2 separate regions of the Homo sapiens genome follow, and region 2 is linked to region 1. Evidence: promoter capture Hi-C in 16 types of primary human blood cells and fetal thymus (Javierre and others, 2016). All regions are on one chromosome and are shown on one strand. Each heading gives the region's core, a stretch centred on a gene start or on the middle of the fragment in contact. The rest is flanking DNA. Distances are from core to core; before and after follow the strand shown. Region 1 holds the start of SLIT3 (slit guidance ligand 3). Region 2 holds the start of SLIT3-AS1 (SLIT3 antisense RNA 1).

Evidence for each region. Contacts are between HindIII fragments. The CHiCAGO score rates a contact against its expected background, and 5 or more counts as called.
Region 2: a contact is called between the fragment with the promoter of SLIT3-AS1 here and the fragment with the promoter of SLIT3 in region 1, in 1 of 17 cell types (megakaryocytes). The highest score is 7.5, in megakaryocytes.

The regions. Positions count from the first base shown.
Region 1 is chr5:169,299,437-169,302,866 of GRCh38, forward strand. SLIT3 (slit guidance ligand 3) reads right to left here and starts at 1,703. Exons shown (of 36, transcript NM_003062.4): 1 at 1,077-1,703. The coding sequence starts at 1,273. The HindIII fragment of the contact is 7,800 bases long and covers 1-3,349 here.
Region 2 is chr5:169,011,579-169,015,008 of GRCh38, forward strand. It overlaps SLIT3-AS1 (SLIT3 antisense RNA 1), which reads left to right and starts at 1,649. Exons shown (of 5, transcript NR_109897.1): 1 at 1,649-1,806. The region is part of intron 4 of SLIT3 (slit guidance ligand 3); the gene reads right to left. The HindIII fragment of the contact is 2,662 bases long and covers 1-2,484 here.

The sequences.
Region 1 (3,430 bases), core at 453-2,952:
CCTACCCCTAAGGCACATGAGGAAGGGGAGAAGAGGGAGAGCAAGACACGGAGGGAATCTACCACACTAGAGCAAACCCTCACCCACTTCTCGGCTGGGTTCCCAGTAAGGCTTCCCACCCACTCCAGCGTTTCTCCCCCACTCCCTTACCCCACCCCAACTGCGGACTAAGAGGAGCCCACCCCGGAGTCCAAGTTTTGAATCTGGTCCGAGGATCAAAATGATAAATGTTTCCAAAACGTTGACATATGAAAAGTAAATATTTGGTTGCACAATTGGGGCTAAAACTAGGGTCAATCCACCCCATTCTCCAAGCGCCTCTCCATTCGCTGCCAAGCCCAGGATCTGAGGCTGAGTGCGGTTTGTAAGATTATAACGCTCGGTCTCATTTGAAGGGCTGTCAGCATTTCCATTCTCCGGCCCCTTCGTTCGGGGAGGCATTTATAACCGAGCCATAAAAAATTCACCCGGGGCTGCAACTTGGCATCTCCCAGACTGCGCTCCAGGCAGAGCGGGTTTTGCGAGCACCCACTCTGAATCTGTCCAGTTCCTCAGAAGTTAAACCTTCACCCACACTCTCAACTTTCCTTGCAAGGGCAGCCAGAGAGCGGCTGGCCCATTCTGATCTCCAAGCAGGTCAACAGTCTCGGGCCCTCTCTCCCGCCTCCGCGCCTTGACGGCCCATCATCCTATAGCTTTCTCCTTCGCCCGCCCCCCTTTTTAACGAGCGCAGACCCCTGACCCTCACCCTAAGACCTTGAGGCTGCAGTGCTCTTGCCTCCCCTCGCCTCTCCTCAGCTACTCCTTGGAAGCTGTCAGCGGGCCCTGCGTCTGGAACCCTCACCCCTGGAGAGGCACTGCTCTTTGCCCATCGCTGGGGGTTTCGAGACCTCTCTTTCCAGATCTGACCAAGCCTACAGACCCCCAGCTCGGAGAGTGAGGGATCGTATCCAGGAAGGGATGAGAATAGAGACTGCATCCAGGGAGGCCGAGGGGAAAGGACGGATCTGGCGCCTGGGGCCCCCTCGGTGGGACCCAGGTGGGTGGCCCGCGTGGGGTGGGGCAGGGGTACTCACAGGCGCTCAGCGTTGCGGGGGATGCCCCGAGGAACCGCGCGGAGGCCCAGCCCGTGGCAGTCCACGCTGGCAGCGGAGCAGGTACACTTGGTGGGGCAGGCGACGGCTGGAGGCCCACTCAGGACGCTCGCCAGCGCCAAGGCCAGCGCCAGGCGGGCGCGCACGGCGGCGCCGACCCCTGCCCACCCGGGGGCCATGGTGTGCAGGGCCCCGCTCCTGGAGGAGGCTGCCTCTGCGGGGCAAGACGCGTGGAGCCCGAGGAGGCGCGCGGGGAGCGCGGGCGGCCTGGGGAGCGGGCGGCGGAGTTAGCGCGGAGGAGGGGCGAGCTCGGTGCTCAGGCGCACGGGGCGCGGGCGGAGCGGGGCGCTCCGGGCGGCGGCGGCGGCAGCAACAGCAGCTCCATCGGCGGGGCCGGCGCTGCCCCGCTGCGCATCGCTGGGAGTGCCCAGGTGCGGAGCGCCCCCTGGCCCCGCTGGCCCGCGGGCCGGGTTGGGGACCTGGGGCGAGCGCAATGGGGCGTGGCGCCCGGGGAGGTCCGGCTTGGGGCTGGGCTGGGGAGCGCGGCGGCTGCGGCTGGGGCACGGGGCGGCCGGGTGAGCTGGCCGGCGCTCGCTCTCTCCATTCAGTGAGCACGGCAGACACCGGAGACGCGGGGCCCACCCCTCCGGCCCCCCCCCGACCAAGAAACGCCAACTCCGCCTCCCATTGGCTGCGCCGCGCGTCATGTCGACTAAGTTGGGAACTTTGCTGGAGCGACCGAGAGCCTGGAGGGAGGAGGCAGTAGAGGAGGGAGAGAGAAGGAACCAGGGAAGGAAAGGGGCTCGGCCAGCAGGGCCCCTGGAAAGAAACACTGAAACTCATTCACTGTTAAGATCCAAGGACGGATAAGGCTCCTGACACTTTTTTTTTTTTAATTTTTGCACTGAGCTGAGCACTCTACTCATATTCTTTACTTAAGTCCACGATCTTCCAAGGGGTCGTCTGAAAACAGCTCAGAGAAGTGAAGCGACTTGCTGGAGGTCGCACAGCTGCTAGGGACGCCAAACCATGGCAGTGTCGCCCACGAAGCCGCTTCCCTACCGCACCTAGTACTCATGGCAGAGATCCACAATTTTGCCTGAAGAGCCTTGGTTGACACCAATGTACTCCACAGCTACACACACACACACACCGTGGTCCATGTTGTTGAGGTCACTGCTGGCAAACCTTACCCGGAAACTTGCCCTGCTTTGCCCAGACCCAGCGCTTGGTGGACTGGTAAAAGTAGTGATGGCAGCGACTTGGACCCCTGGATTGACAATGCCTTGTTCCATCCTCGGGTTTCTGCTTCCTGACTGGGTGACTCTGGGCCAATCGTGTCATCTCTGAGCCTTCGTTTTCTCAAATCCGGGGCCACAGTCCTACCTGGCCTCACCTCCCTGGGTTGTTTGGAGCATCACAGAAGAGAACGTGTTTTTGCAAAAGTCATTCGCAGACGAGGCATCCCTTCTGTCCCCAGCGCCTTCTTTCTTCCAGCGCCCGCTTTAAATTGGCTAGGTCTGAGCTTTTCCAGATGCCAGTGGGGAGGGGCGTGTGCGTTAGAGGCTCCATAAATACTTGTAGGAATGATTTTGTTTGTTTGTTTGAAAGGAAAGGGCAGGAACTGGAGGAAGTATTGCCCAGATTTCCTTGAGGTCCCCTCACACTGAGAAGGCCTGAATGAGCCCTGCATATATATACACACACACTGGTGCCTACGTATTCACAGCCACGCACACACTCTCACATACTCAGGCTCACACACACCCATTTATACACCGGCAATCACACACACGTGTACATGCATGCTCGCACACACACTCACATAGTGACAACTATACTCCTGAGAGCGCTTCTCTTTTCTTTCATAAGAATACTATTCTGATTTCTTCTACCTCATTTTCCTTCAAGGAAACTTTCAACTACTTGACCACATCCTGTGAATATATAGTAGAGTTGTAGATTTTATTGTATTATACTTAGCAGATTTTCAAAGTCTTAGCTTTGGGCACCCACTTGCGCGCGCGTACACACAAACACACACATACGCACACTCACTCAAACACACACACTCGAGTCCCTTCATCATTCATAAACACATTAGGTGCAATTTACTGCTGTTATTCTTGGGAACGGCTTTCTGTACAGATGCTGTTGTTATCGCCCCCTGGTGGCTGGCGAGGGTCTATGCTCCGGTCTTCAGGGTGACTTCGGTATTTAAGAACTCTAAACATCCTTTTATCCCTTTGCTCTGAAGCTTTCCTCCAAACCTTGAACCAATTTAGTACCAGGACTGAGGCAGATGAGAGAACCGGGCAAGGGCCCAAGGGCACAAA
Region 2 (3,430 bases), core at 399-2,898, 290 kb before region 1:
AGGCTGAGGAATGCACTGCCCAGCACACTCAAGACAGTCATTTGCTGGGGGAGAGGAGGGGCCTGCTCTGTCAGAGCTCAGGGTTTTACACATCCTAAAATCTTTACTTATGGACATCAGGTCAAAGGGAAGGGAAAACACTCAACCACACTTGAAAAGTAACCCGATGTTATTGTCAGCAAATGTGCTGCAGCTGTTTTTGCTATTACAAAAGCTGGTACTTTTGTTGTTGTTAAGTATGAATCTTGTAGGAAATAAAGAGTATGATTCTGGGGAAGCCCCCTGTATAGCACTGCCCACTTTGATAAAAATATCATTTATTCATTCAACATAGGGGACTTCAAAAACAGAGTAATATTCTTTCTTGCTTTTTTTTTTTTTTGGTTTAACTAGGTGTTAGAAGGTAGGAACCACTTTTATTGTCATTTTTTATTCTTTATAACTTGATATGTTATAAACATTATTTATTATCTACTAAATAGCAAATACAAATGATAACTCTTCATTGTTGATGAAAGCCATTTTTCGGGGGTACAGGAAAGGGCATCTTATAGATTGGGAGATGAGGATTTTGATGATTGCCTAGAAGACTTTATTTTGTAATAATCCTGAAGCAAAATGGCATGAAGCTCTGCTGACCTGTGATAACTGTGTGTATTTCCTTCCAGTGTCTCACCAACTGGCAGCCATCCACTTCAGGTGTGCCCGTTGAAGGATGCCACCTCGAAGGAGATGGGACCAGCCTTGTGTTGGGGTGAGGATTCTGGCCACTTGATCTGGGCAGGAGTGCTCTGCTCAGAGTGCAGTGCTCAATCTTACAAGCCTGGCTCGCCTGAACTGTGAAAGGTCAGCAGGACTAAGCTGAGCGCCAGGATTCCAACTTCCCTTCTTCCGCCCCAGGTCTGGCAACTTGTAAATGTGGAGGCTCTGCTAAGCACTGGGATTTTATTAAGGGCCTCGTTAAAATTTACTAGAATCAAATAAAGAAAAGATCCAGCCTTGGAAATCATTCTCCACGCTGTCTCTCCTTCTGACCTCTTCTCAACCCCCATCCCCCACACCATTTATTCATCCGTGAAACCTTTAACAACTGAACTAATTCTGGAAAGTTGCCCATATCAGATATCTTCAGAAATCACTTTGGAAAATGCCTTTAGGAAGGTAGGACACCTCTTCCCATTTGTCTTATGATGGCAGGTCCAGAGCTTACATGAAGAGGCAGTGAGGCAAAGATGTAAAGAATATGGACTCTTCAGTCAGACCTGGGATGAACCCCGGCCATTACCTACTCACGGAGGAGCCTGGGCCACTTATCTAACCTCTCTGAGGCTCACTTTCTGCGTCTATCAAATGAGAATAGCGCTACTATCTGCTGTATGAAACACTGACCGAGTTAAGCAAAATAATGCAGGTTAGCTGCTTAATCCAGTGTCTAGCACATAGCAAGTGCCAAAAATGTGAGCGATTAAAAGGGGTCTTTTACTAGCACTGGCCACATCCCCATCTTATCGCTTTATCTTCCATTGAGCAGAGGTTCTGCCAGGTGCAGGGGACAAGGGAGAAGAAAAGACACGCACATTCTCCTGGGCTTCAAAGTTGTCCCATCCTTCTGTGATGTCATAATCTGAGCCATAGCCCACAAATGTGAACTCCAACAACCCCCAAACCCAGTCCTCACCTCCCACATGCTTTTCATCACCCGCTCTCACATCCCATCTGGGGCCTCTGCTTCCATCCTACCATTTCGCAAGCCTGGCCAACTCAAGCTCCGTGTGCTGCACCTAGAGCAGCCCATCTCTGTGTCAGGTAAGCACGTCAGGGCCCCCAGGATGGGAGACAGGAAAACCTCTTCTGGGGGAAGCCGAAATGGAGCAAAATGGGACAGCTCTTTGGTTTTGTAATTAAAACTGAAACCCGATCCTTCTGCTCTCAGAGACCTGACCACAGGTTTCGTTTTTCAAAGGGCTACCTGGATGCTTATTAAAGGCCAACTTGTGCCCAAGATTGGGTTACTCCACTTTCAGCAGCTGCTTGACCTCTGCCTCTTACGCCCGTTCTGAGATGAAGGCTCATGTGGAATTAAACCCGGGCTAAATAGGTGGCCCAGGGCAGCCGGGGCCCCATGCAGCTCCTCGAAAGACAAATGTATTTTGAGCAGGCCTGGCTCCTACTCCTTCAGGTCTCTGCTCAAATATTCATTCACCTGCCCTCCAAACCTACAGTTACTTACCTCTTCCTTCTTCCTCACATTGTCGTATTTTCTCATGCCACTTACTCTAAAGTGCCTGGTTTATAGATCTGCATACTTGCTCTGGCTTGCAGGCCTCTAGGCTGTTGGTTCCCTGAGAAGAGAGACTGCCTGTCTTGTTCATGCTATAGTTCCTGTGTGTGATAGTTATTGCACTGAGTGGATGAGGGAGAAGGATAAAAGTCATAAAATGCCTCGCAAAAACTTTGAGGTCTGCCTGCCTGGTATTACAGAGAAGCTTGCACAATACAGAATGTTTTGTGGGAAGGAAGGCAGGCAGGCAGGCAGGCAGGCAGGCAGGTTGGTTATGTTTTCACTCTTGATATCTCAAAGCTTTATGACACACTCATGGAGTGAACATAATCTTTGTGGCATGATACAAAGGGACTGAATCACTCAAGAAGATAATTTTATCTGGTAGTATCACCTGCCTTTATACATTATACATGTATTCTTATTCTCTCTCTCCAGCTATATATATCCAGAAAATTTTCTGAACCAAAATTGGCCAGGTCCTGAATACCTAAGTCCATGGAGTGGAAAGTCAGTACAAATTTGATGAGAGCCAGGAAACCTGAAGTACTGGTGGGGGAGAGGATGGTGAGGTGGAGAAGAGAAAGAATAGCCACAGCCAGGGCTTTTCTTTGGCTGAAGCCTAGGATAGACTTAGACAGGTCAAGACCAACGTCAAGCCGGCTTCCTCCACACAGACACACACACTTTCCTTCGCTCCTCTGAGCTGGAAAACAGTGCCTTTTGCACACAGGAATGAAGAGAAGGAAGGAAAATAGGGCAGAGAAGGTGAGCTAGCCCTGAGTGTAGGAGCATTAAGAAGCAACCTCATGCTGGTGCAGTGGTTCATTCTTTTAATCCCAGCACTTTGGGAGGCCAAGGCAGGTGGATCATCTGAGGTCAGGAGTTTGAGACCAGCCTGACCAATATGGTGAAACCCTGTCTCTACTAAAAATACAAAAATTAGTTAGGCGTGGTGGCACATGCCTGTAGTCTCAGCTACTCAGGAGGCTGAGACAGGAGAATTACTTGAACTCGGGAGGCAGAGGTTGCAGTGAGCTGATATCATGCCACTGCATTCCAGCCTGGGTGACAGAGCGAGACTCCATCTCAAAAAAATAAAAATAAAAATGCAACCTCAGAAGGTGGCAATAATGACCTTGTAGATTA